Linked DNA regions of Homo sapiens: region 1 is linked to region 2. Evidence: promoter capture Hi-C in human tissues and cell types (Jung and others, 2019). All regions are on one chromosome and are shown on one strand. Each heading gives the region's core, a stretch centred on a gene start or on the middle of the fragment in contact. The rest is flanking DNA. Distances are from core to core; before and after follow the strand shown. Region 1 overlaps KIAA0319L (KIAA0319 like). Region 2 holds the start of CLSPN (claspin).

The links. The method cuts DNA at HindIII sites, captures the fragments that hold promoters and counts their contacts. A contact is called where the count stands out against the background at its distance.
Region 1: a contact is called between a fragment that was not itself captured here and the fragment with the promoter of CLSPN in region 2, in 2 of the 25 tissues and cell types used here (bladder and mesenchymal stem cells).

What each region holds. Positions count from the first base shown.
Region 1 is chr1:35,446,407-35,452,438 of GRCh38, reverse strand. KIAA0319L (KIAA0319 like) reads left to right here. Exons shown (of 21, transcript NM_024874.5): 13 at 663-811; 14 at 1,930-2,081; 15 at 2,434-2,572; 16 at 4,107-4,266. Among named protein-coding and RNA genes, the nearest start is that of ZMYM4-AS1, 83 kb to the right of the region's middle. RefSeq lists a silencer at 1,160-1,339. The HindIII fragment of the contact is 6,659 bases long and covers 225-6,032 here.
Region 2 is chr1:35,767,119-35,773,312 of GRCh38, reverse strand. CLSPN (claspin) reads left to right here and starts at 3,335. Exons shown (of 25, transcript NM_022111.4): 1 at 3,335-3,466. The coding sequence starts at 3,443. It overlaps CLSPN-DT (CLSPN divergent transcript), which reads right to left and starts at 3,218. Exons shown (of 3, transcript NR_199050.1): 1 at 3,065-3,218; 2 at 303-515. RefSeq lists a silencer at 3,493-3,722. The HindIII fragment of the contact is 25,943 bases long and covers 1-6,194 here.

The DNA of each region.
Region 1 (6,032 bases), core at 2,305-4,804, 320 kb after region 2:
AGAGGGCTCTCTGGCTGTGTGCAGCCTGAATGTTGGCACAGAGCTCCCTTGGCTGCTGCAGGCAAGTCTCTGAGGCCACAAGGGGGAAGAAGGGTTGTAGGGTGTCCTAGGTGCTTGATGGCCCCTGTCCAGGAGCTGGAGGGAACTTTGCTTATAGAGTTGCTACAAACAAGATGATTTTGTCCTGAGAGTTCCTCTGCAGTCTTGCCCCATTTCCTTTTCTTTCATCAGGAAGGATTTGGGCACGTGATTAAGAAATGCATTTTGCTTCCTTGCTGGCAAGAGCCAAACCAACTACTGGGCCAGAAATGCTTTTTAGAAACATCACTCTTAAATCATTCTTTTGATCAGAGACTTGCTCAGAGAACTTTCTTCCTTTTACAAACTAGAATGGTAAAGCGTTCAAGTGTTCTAGAAGCTCATATAAAGGATAAGGCTAGAGGTGTTTGAAAGCTATTTGAATTTTCTGACCAGCAGGCAGCCTGTATTTTGAGGCCAAATGACACTTTGTCCAATTGAAATATTTTTAAACATGTCTTGTCAAGGTCTGGGTAACAGTAGTTCGTGTCTTTGCTGAGGGAGTCATTGTCTCCTCCTGCTAAGTTAGGGACAGGACAGCAGCAGACAGGTACAACTCTACCCTCTAGTTTCTTTTTTTGCAGGGGACCTGATGGGGTGCAGCTCGAGAATGCTAACAGCAGTGTTGCTACTGTGACTGGGCTGCAAGTGGGGACCTATGTGTTCACCTTGACTGTCAAAGATGAGAGGAACCTGCAAAGCCAGAGCTCTGTGAATGTCATTGTCAAAGAAGGTACCTCTCTGCCTCCAGTTTGTGTAGCAGCCTCTTAGGGTCAGATAGCTGAAGAATTTATCCTGTCATGTTTGCCTGCAGAAATTGATTAGAGATAGCAAGAGGTGGGTAAGAGGGTTGGGGTGAGGGCAATTGTTATTTTCTTTTCTAAAACAGCCTTTAATTGGACTGTAAGGTGAATTTTAACTTCCCTCCCTCCTCCTGCTTACATCTTCCCTTCCCTCTCATCCCCTTACTTTCTTTTCAGTCCTCCCTCCTTCCCTCCTTACTTTATTTCTCAGTTGAATAGGGAAAGAATTAAGGGTTCTATTCTTTGCATTTTTATTTTGCCCCTCTGCATTGCTGAGACCTGGGCCGTGACTCCTGTTAGCTACAGTGACACCTGCTGTCAGGCTTGAGAATGACGGCCGCACTACAGCTGACTATGCTTGCCCTGAGCCTTTGAGCTGAGGCCAGCCAGAGGCCTTGCTCTAGTTTACAGGCACAGTGACCAGTGAGAGCTGTGGGAGAGGGCCTTAAGTTGAGGGCCTTAAGTTGATAGCAGGAAAAACCATCAGATATGCAGACCTCCAGACATAAGATACCAAGCTGAGTAAATACTGCACAGACATCTGAATATACAGAGCTTCACGTGGGGCTCCGAATAAGAGAGGTAGCTCTTTGTTTTCTCTTGTGAAGTTCCAAGGAAGGGGTCCAAAAAGATATTCAGAGAATAACATTTTAAGATATTTTGAAGGAGAATTTGCAAGATCAGCTAGGTGAAACCTAAACTCCAAGGTTTTAAGCCAGTTTGGGCCGTTATTTCTGATCATCACATACCTCCAAAGCAGAGAAATGGATTCCATTTGGGAAGGCTGCTGGGAGAATATGAGAGGAAAGCACACTCGTCCCCTCTGTTGTACAGTGTTAGGAGAACATTTCTCTGGGTAGGACTGGAACCTCAGGACTGCAGCGCTGGTAGCTTTCATCTACACTGTTGGTTGGTGGCAGGGACAGGCACTTAAAAAGGTTCTCCAGTTAAGGTACTCTTGATGTTTTAATTTCCCCATAAGCATCATGAAGAAACATTTCTTCTTTTCCAGAATGTCACATTATGTCAATGATTTCTTTTTGATTAGAAATAAACAAACCACCTATAGCCAAGATAACTGGGAATGTGGTGATTACCCTACCCACGAGCACAGCAGAGCTGGATGGCTCTAAGTCCTCAGATGACAAGGGAATAGTCAGCTACCTCTGGACTCGAGATGAGGGGAGCCCAGCAGCAGGGGTAAGTGTGCTAGGAGCTGGAGAGCTACACAGGAGTGGGGAGGAGGAGGAGCCACGCGTTCCAGTATATGCTTTAATCAAGTGGTCCCTTATATCAAACCCAGATTGTTCTCTGAAATCCAGGGAGGTGAAGTGACTTGCTTAGGGTCATTCTGTAAGCTAGTATAGCACAGAATGGGTTTCCCTTCCCTGATCCTAGCAGTTGTAGGCTGCAATGCTGTTCCGTATCAGGAACTGCCCAAGGTTGAAACAGTTCAGCCCTGAAGGGCCTAGTTATGGTGAAAGCAGCAACTGACTCCAGGAAAGGAATGGCATTTTGTTCTGTAACATAGCCATGTTGTTCAACCCTACAGGAGGTGTTAAATCACTCTGACCATCACCCTATCCTTTTTCTTTCAAACCTGGTTGAGGGAACCTACACTTTTCACCTGAAAGTGACCGATGCAAAGGGTGAGAGTGACACAGACCGGACCACTGTGGAGGTGAAACCTGGTGAGTTCATTTAGTGATGAGGCTGAGTAGAATTGCTGAATCAGCCAATCAAGGCCTCTATCCTGAGATCCCCTTCCCCGAGCATGGACAGAGCCAGATGGCATGTCCAGCTTTAAAAATAATCGAGAAACCCCAAGCTGAAAAATCCATAGAGACCGTCTGTTCCAATAATACCTCCTACCCATGCAGAAATACAGACCTCCCCCTATTCATCTCAGATGGAGAAACAAACTCAGAGAGGGCAGGACTTGCTCAGTGTCACACAGCAGTTGTGTCAGAGCCAGGCCTTTGTGCTCGTAGTCCAGCACTTTCTCCTCTCCTCGTGACTGATGAGAGAGGGCTCAGAGTGCTTGGGAATCTGAGCATGGGAATAGCTTGAGTCATGATGTCTCATCAGCATCCAGATGCAGAAAACAATTTATTTTTATAAGTTGAGCCTCAGGCCTTGTCTGATAATCCAGGGAAGGTAAAGTAATAGTGCTCTTTACATTTTTCAGCTTTGCAGAAATAAAAATTTTCTTCTTAAATAGAACCATGTTTTTATTTTGCTTTGAGATTAATATGGTGATAGGGAGGCACTGAGTATGGAGGTGGGATAGAGCTGTATAAATTCCTGAGCTTCTGATGAAATGGTATTAACTTTAAACCTACTCTTTATTATCTAGGCCAACCTCATATATGGATGTTTTGGACAGGAAGGGATCTTGGGAGGTCTTCCAGTCCTTGTCCTGCCTCTAGGAAGGACAGTAGCTGAGACACTATAAAATCTCTTTGGTGTTTAAAGTCAGATCACAGATAGTCTACTAATTATGCAAATTATACATCAGAACAGGCAAGTGGTGCATTCAAGTATGTAAATAAGGCATTCCAAACAATCAGTTTGAAATTCCAAATGTAGAACATCTTTAGGACATATTCAAAAGTAAAACATGATAGCCTCACCGTTTTAGAGTTATACAAAGATAGTGCAGCTGTGATGTGGCTCTAAGGAAATCCTTGTGTCTTGGCTGACTGGATTTTCTTTTGTTAACTGTATTTAAACCTGGAGGGACGGATGCATTCCCATTATTGAGGAGGTTGTTGAGATGGACACTTTTCCTCCCATTGTTGTGCACAAAATACAGCGAGGCACTGAAAATCAGATGTGAGTCAGGAGAGATTGCTTAATAACCCCCACTTGGCCTGGATTGCTCAGCACTGCCAGTTGCACAGAGGCTTTTAAAACAAATGTTTAAGTGTTTCTCTCTTCCCCACTCCCGTCATTACTCCCCACCCCTCATTGCATCACTGCTTCAGCCTTATCCCCAGCACATGTGTGGGAATTCTCAGGTTGGTATAGAGAGCAGGAGTGCTTTAGAAGCTTTCTAAGCCAGCCCCAGATTGCCCGATCAGGAATTCACTATTGTCCCTTTCCATTTGAAGGATATCTGAATGTTCTCACTCCTTTCTCTCCTGTGCCAAAGCAAATGCACAGTGGCAGGTCTGTGTTTACTCTCCTACTTCTAAAGCCATGACTGATCCACATGCTTTCCAGATCCCAGGAAAAACAACCTGGTGGAGATCATCTTGGATATCAACGTCAGTCAGCTAACTGAGAGGCTGAAGGGGATGTTCATCCGCCAGATTGGGGTCCTCCTGGGGGTGCTGGATTCCGACATCATTGTGCAAAAGATTCAGCCGTACACGGAGCAGAGGTAGCTGGGCAATGAATGGGGGGAGCAAAGGAAAGACCAGGGGCCCCCGGGCTTCTTGAATGAGCTGAGAAATAGTGTGGTTAGATAGAGAAAGGTGGGCTTTCTGACCAGAAACACTCATGTTGCCTTTTCTTCAATAGACTTCTGTCTTCTAGTGCAGGTGACATGCGCTGTACTAGACACTTCAGCAGGGCTCCAGGGTGTAGGAGGTCAACTATTTTGACAACCACAGTCTAGTAGAGGAGATAAGTAAATATGGAACATTAGTACGGTGTGGGTTTGGTACAACAAGCGGCATTGTGGAACACTGTGGCAAGGACAATGAATTCTTCTAGGAGAGTTGGGGTAGGAGTAATCCAAAGATTTTTCTAGAATAAAGAAAACTTCAACCTGGGCAACATAACAAGACCCCACCTCTACAGAAGATTTAAAAATTAGCCAGGTGCAGTGTGGTTCGCCTGTAGTCCAAGCTATTTGGGAAGCTGAGGCAGGAGAATTACTTGAGCCCAGGGGTTTGAGGCTGCAGTGAGCTCTGATCACACCACTGCACTCCAGCCTGGAAGACAGAGTGAGACTGTCTCAAGAAAAAAAAAAAAAAGAAAAAAAAAGGGGAAAAGGAAACTTATATTGACCAGGCATGGGAGGATGGGGAGGAAATTCAGAACAGGGCAACAGCATTGAGCAATGGCCCTGTGGTATGAAAGTACACAGTTTCTTCCAGAAGAAGTCACTTGGTTCAAGCTTAGTGGCCCCAGGATGTGGTAGAAGACAAGACTGGCAGTGGAGATTGAGAACAGTTATATGCAAGCTGAGGATCTTAGTTTTAATAGTTTGGGTAGGCAGATCCAAGTTGGTTTGTTTTATGTGTGTGAAGTTTTTGTTTTGTTTTTAAAAGCAAGGAATTTCCATAATTTGATTTTTTTTTTTTTTTTTTTAAAGAAAGATCAGTAGTGTGGAAGCTAGTCTAAAATAGGGAGAGACCAAAGGCTGGGAGACCATTCAGGAAGCTTCTGGACTAGTCCAGTGAAAAGGTAATAAAACCTGAATTAAGATAGTGGAAGAAGAGGAGAAGAAATTAAAAGAAATTCAGTGGTAATTCAGTAGTACCTGGCCCTTTACGAATGAAGGTGAGTGAGATAGCAAATGTGAGGCTTTTGGTTTGGATGTCTGGATAGATGGTTCAGGTCATTAACTGAGATTGGGAAGGCAGGCGAAACCAGTATGGATGATTGAATTTGGGGTGTCTTACTGGCTGCGTCAGGAGATGTTCCGTCAGATAGCCACAAGTAAAGGCTGGAACTTGTGGAAGGAAGAGCCCGAGATAGGAGTTACTGCATACAGGCAGGAGCCAAAGCCATGAGAACGGGTGAGTCTCACTAGGAGAGAGCTAAGATGGATAAGGACACAACTCTGAAGGGCATCATTATTTAAGGAGGAGGCAGAGAAAGAAGAGGTAGCAAAAGAAACTAAGAAACAGCAATCAGGTGGGAGGAAAACCAAATGAGAGTAGTCTGCTGGAAGTTAAGGGGTGATCTGGCAAAAGGGGTGCTTCCAAAGGATTCAGATGCTACAGGGATGGAGGTGTGGTGAGAACACAAAGTAGGCCTATGGGTTTGTGATTAGTAGATCAGTGCAACTATAGTGAGAGCATTTTACTTAGATGTTGGAGGCAGAGGACAGATTTCATGGTTTGAGGATACAGAGATGGTCAGTATAACACCTTTTTGAGGAAGTTGGTGCTGAAAATAATATGGGAGGTAGGATTG
Region 2 (6,194 bases), core at 2,086-4,585:
GAATGTACTTCTGAACTGCATACTTTAAAATGGTTAAGATGGTAAATTTCATGTTATATATGTTTTACCACAATAAAAATTGAATGAAAGGTTTTCCTTTCCTAGCTTACCCATGTCCACCCATTGTTCAAATTGGAGCTTTCTCTCTTAGCTTCTGTGATGAGTGAAAAGGTGCTCCCCAAAGATATTTTAAAATACTAATATAAGGAATATTATTTCACTCATTCATTTTCAGAGGGAGCTCAAGAAGTTGTCAAGTGAATGAATTAATTAGTTCAACAAATATTTATCAGTTTTCCTACCTTGAACCTGGGATGTTCTAAGTCCTTTGTTCTCAAAGTGTGGTCTCCAGATCAGCAACACTAGCATCACCAGGGAATTTGTTAGTAATATACATTCCTGTGGGGCACGGTGGTTCATGCCCGTAATCCCAGCACTTTGCGAGGCCGAGATGTGCAGGTTGCTTGAGTCCAGGAGTTTGAGACCAGCTTGGGCAACATGGTGACACCCCGTCTCTACAAAATAAAAAATTAGCTGGGCATGGTGGTGCACACCTGTAGTCCCAGCCACTTGGGAGGCTGAGGTGGAAGGGTTGCTTGAGCCTGGGAGGTTGAGGCTGCAGTGAGCTGTGATCATGCCACTGCACTCAGGGAGAAAAAGAAAAAAAGGAAAGAAAGAAGTATACATCTCTGGACCCCACTTCAGACATACTGAATCAGAAACTTTGGCACTAGGACCCAACAATAGCTGTTTTTACCAGCCTTTCAGATTATTCTGATGCATGCTCAAGTTTAAGAAAGACAATTCTAGGTTGCAATGATACAGAGGCCAAGAAAACAAAACGCCTGTTCTCTTGGAGCAACAACAGACAAATAGATATAAATAAAATTTCAGGCAAAGGAAAGTGTTATCAGGGAAACCAGCATAGGATAAGGAGGCAGAACACAGAGGATGCTCAGGCAGGGTCTTTCTGAGGGGTATGAGCTCTGAAGTCACATAGAGTCTGAAAATTGGCTCCACCAGTTTCTAGCCTTTTAAAAGTCTGGTTTCCTCATCTTCTAAGAAAGAGATAATAATATTACAAGTTTACTCTGAAGATTAAATAAGATAACACTTATAAAATCCTTGCAACTGTTTCTGCCACTGAGTAAGGCTTCAATAAACGTTAGCCCTCCATATATGATGGGGAGTGCCATAGATGTATACCTGGGAATCGTTGATGTAGAAATTAATAGTAAATGGATGAAAAGGTGGATAAACCAAGACACAAAAAGAGAAGAGGATGGATGATGGGCTCTTGTTGGTGGGGACAGAAGTGGATTGAGAGATGGTGGGGAAGTAAAGAAATGAAGATGTGGAGAGGGAGCTTTTTTCTGAACCCAGCTAAAGGTGGAAACTTGGAAGAGGAGGCCAGTGGATTGGGTGAAGAACCAACCATTTGGTATACCTGTGACTGAGGAGGTTCTCAGGATGCAGGACTTTTAGTGCTAAAACTAGGAAAGTCCTGGGCAAGCTGGGCCAAGCTGGCCACACTGGCAGTGGATATGACCATGGAGGGTGAAGTGAGCAATAAATACTCTGACCTTTCTTTCCTGGTGGCCTCTCATCTCCTTACAGTAACCTTATAAGGTGTCTTTACAGGGGCCTGACCCAACCAGAAGGGCAAGGGAGCTGGGATAATACAGTCTAGAGAGGTCAGCCTTGCCTTGACACACACCAGGGTAAAGGAAGGACAGAGAATTGACCTGGAGAGGCAAAAAATAATGGCCAGCACAGTGGCAAAACTGGGATTAGAATTGTCTGGGATAGGCCAGGTGCGGTGACTCACACCTGTAATCCCAGCACTTTGGGAGGCTGAGACGGGCGGATCACGAGGTCAGGAGTTCAAGATCAGCCTGGCCAAAATGGTGAAATCTTGTCTCTACTAAAGTTACAAAAAATTATCTGAGCGTGGTGGCACATGCCTATAATCCTAGCTACTCAGGAGGCTGAGGCAGGAGAATCGCTTGAACCCGGGAGGCGGAGGTTGCAGTGAGCCGAGATCACGCCATTGCACCCAGCCATGGTGACAGGGAGAGACTCTGTCTCAACAAAAAAAAAAAAAAAAAAAAAAGAACTGTGTCTGGGATAAACCTGATTTCAGAGCTTCAATTCTTTTTCCAGCCTTGTTTAAAGGTAGAATGCCCTCTAGGAGTGATGAGTGCTTTCTACATCCTCAAATTAACTCTACAGAGAATTATAAAGATTATCCAACCATATTCTTTGGTATCTGAGCAGCCCACAAAACTTTTTTCTTTAGAGACAAGGTCTCCCTCTATCGCCTACGCTGAAGTGCAGTGGTGCGATCATAACTCACTCTAACCTCAAACTCCTGGACTCAAGCCATCCTCCCACCTCGGCCTCCCAAAGCGTTGAGATTACAAGCGTGAGCCATGGAGCCCGGCCCTCTTTAAAAAATAAAAGTGGGCCGGGCACAGTGGCTCACGCCTGTGAGGGGTATGAGGCCTCCCAGCACTTTGGGAGGCCGAGGCGAGGATCATTTGAGATCAGGAGTTCGAGACCAGCCTGGCCAACATGGTGAAACCCCGTCTCTACTAAAAATACAAAAATTAGCCAGGGGTTGGTGGCGGGTGCCTGTAATCCTAGCTACTCAGGAGGCTGAGGCACGAGAATCGCTTGAACCCGGGAGGCGGAGGTTGCAGTGAGCCGAGATCGCGCCACTGCATTTCATCCTGGCTAACAGAGGGAGACTCCATCTCAAAAAAAAAAAAAGTGTGTGTGTATACACATACATGTGTATGTGTATATATGTGTATGTATATATGTGTGTACATATGTGTGTGTGTGTGTATATATATATATATATATATATATATATATATATATATATATTCAGTGGTAAGTGTCATGTACAAGAGGCACACAGGATCTAGCTGCTCCAGAAATGAAGTCAGTGGAGAAAATCCCCACGGGAACCTTGGAATTCCTCTAAAAAGTTCAGGTACAGGACACTCCCAGGTGCCCAGGAACCGTTTCCCAGCTCACTTCCCCCCGAAAGACTCACCCCTCCAATCGCACTCGATGCTTTGGCAAGTGTCAAAGGTCAAAGACCACGGCTCGCCTGGTACCGACTGCCCCGCCCCCGTGCACCTCCAGCTCCCCCAGGCTCCGCTACCAGCAGCTGCGACCCGCCAACTCAGCCTGGGTAATAGGAGATTGGGCGGCCAGAGGCGCTGCGTGATTGGTGGGTCGGAAGGGGGCGGGGACTCGCTGGAAAGCCCCCTCTGGATTGGTGCAAACCATCTGGGTGGGACCTCCACTCTGGCTGGGCGGGAAAGCAAGAACAGCACTGCTGGGCTGGAGACGGCGGGAGCCGCTGCTCTCCGGCTGAGGGAATCAGAGACAGCTCCGTCCCTAGTGGAGCGCAGGGGAGGCAGAAGTCATGACAGGCGAGGTGGGTTCTGAGGTGAGTTTATGCACACGCCCCCCACGGGGGCTTAGAAGGCCGGGCACCGAGAGGTTAGGTGGGGCCGGGGTAGACCCCGCTGACCCGAGGCGCCCGGGCGGGAGGACTGCGGCTCCCGGCGTTCGCCGCGCCGGCTCCCGCGGCCTCGAGACTCGGCCGGGATGGGTTCCGACCGGGCATCCCGTCCCGCCGCCGGGCTTCCCGCGCTTCGGGCTCCGTGGCCGGAGAGCTCCAGGTCTCTGCGGCGCGCACTGCCGGCAGCCCAGCCCCTCTTCAGCCGGTTCCTGCCGCCAGCCCTCCCCTTTGGCGCGTTTCCTGTCGCGGAAGCTCCTCCCCTCAGGGTGCTCTGAAAGCCGGGAGGCTCTAGCCGAACCCGGCCGCAGCGGTGCGGGGGGATTCTCCGCAGAGAGAGGGCGAGCGAGGGTGTTAGGGAGTTCCACACTGGGCCTGGGAGGGGCCCTGGAGGTCATCGCGCGCAGGCCCTTTGCGTTTTCCGACCGGGCCCCGAGTGGGGAAGTCACCGCTGGGGCTCCTGGCTGGTGGCTGGCAGCTCCCTGGCGAAATTGGGCATAGAAAACAGATGTTTCCAGAGCTGTGTCCTTTCTGGGCCGGATTCGGGCAAGGCACTCCCGCCTTAGGAGCAAAATTTAAAGGGGCGCCAAAACCCTCAATCAAACTCATATTTTAATGCAATATTTTTAAAAAACCAAAATTAATGCAAAAACTTTTTATGATTTGATATTGAACAAAATATCAGACGTTTAAACAAAGACGAGATCCGACCAGTCATTTGCACGACCTTGCCTCAATCACCTCACCCTAATTCCATCCCTGTTTCCAATAAACTTTATTTACAAAAGCGGGCATATTATTTACCTCATGAGCTGTAGATTATTGATTTAATTTTTTAAAAAATATTGCATTAATGTTATTCATTTTGATTACTGAATTTTTTGAGACCTCACCCCACCCTGTTACTGGCCCTGCCCTTTGACGTTGCTGCAAATTGCCTAGAAGATAATCGTCATTCAAAGCAGCCCTATTCCTTGAGCTGTCTGGTTACCTAAATTCGGTTTCCACACTCACAAACAGAAGTAATAGTTTTACTGCTTTGGATTGTTGAGAGGATCATCAGTGCATACATATTAATTCTCAGCAATCCCAGCACTTCGGGAGGCTAAGGCCGGCAGATTGCTTGAGCTCAAGAGTTCGAAACCAGCCTGCATAGAAAACATGGCAAAACCCCGCCTCTACAAAAAAAAAAAAATTAGCCGGGCGTCGCCTGTGGTCCCAGCTACTCGGTCCCAGCTACTCGGGTGGCTGAGGTGAGAGAATCCTTTGGGCCTGGGAGGTCAAGGCTGCAGTGAGCCATGATCCTGCCACTGCACTCCAGCCTAGGTGACAGAGTGAGACACTGTATCAAAAAAAAAAAAAATTTGTACCTTGCATTCAAATCAATTTAATAATTTTTTTTTTTTTGAGACGGAGTCTCGCTCTGTTGCCCAGACTGGAGTGCAGTGGCACAATCTCGGCTCACTGCAACTTCTGTCTCCTGGATTCAAGCGATTCTCCTGCCCCAGCCTCCTGAGCAGCTGGGACTACAGGCACACACCACCACGCCCAGCTAATTTTTGTATTTTTAGTAGATACGGGGTTTTACTGTATTGGCCAGGCTAGTCTCGAACTCCTGACCTTGTGATCCACCCACCTCGGCCTCCCAAAGTGCTGGGATTACAGGCGTGAGCCACCATGCCTGACCAATTTAATAATTTTTTGAGAAACCACTCAGCTGAGGCCTTGTGCCCTGTTACATTACTGATGTTCATATTTCTCCCTTTATTAATAAGTTGATTCAGAGCCCTGAGAACACTAAGGAGGTAGACTTGGCATCTAGGGTTAGCTTTAAGGTCACTAACTGATCAAGTCACCTAACACACCCCTCCTCCTTAGGTTTTTATTTGCGACTTTTTAAACTGTCTTATTTAGAAATTTTCAAACCTATACAACCGTAGAAAGGATGGTATAATGAACCCATCACCTTACTTCAACTACAGTTTGAATATCTCTCGTCTGAAATGCTTGGGACCAGAAGCGTTTTGAATTTCAGATTCATTTTGGATTTTGGAATATTCGCATACACATAATGAGATATCTTGGGGGAGGGACCCAAGTCTAAACATGAAATTCAGTTATATTTCATATATACCTTACACACATAGTCTGAAGGTAATTTTATACAGCATTTTAAAATAATTTCGTGCATGAAGCAAAGGTTTTACTGCAGCTCATCATATGAGGTCAGGTGTGGAATTTTCATCTAGTGGCATCATGTCAGTGCTCAAATATTTTGGAATTGGGAGCATTTCAGATTTTCAGGTTAGAGATGTTCAACCTGTATTTTCAAGTCATGGCCAATCTTGTTTTATTCATACAGCTACCCATTTTTCCTCTCACAGGATTATTTGGAAGAAAATCCAAGATATCATATTATTTGAACCACAAAGATTTTAGTGTGCATATCTAACAAACAAGAGCTTTCCAAAAATAGATACTACGATATTATTACCACACCTAAGAAGTATCTAGTCAGTGTTCAGATTTCTTTGACTCAGAGATATTTCATTTATTTTTATATGCCACTTTAGCATAATTATTTACATTTTTAGTTTTTTGAATCATCATCCGAAGTTGGCATTTTGTAATTGTTTATATTATATATGTGTATATA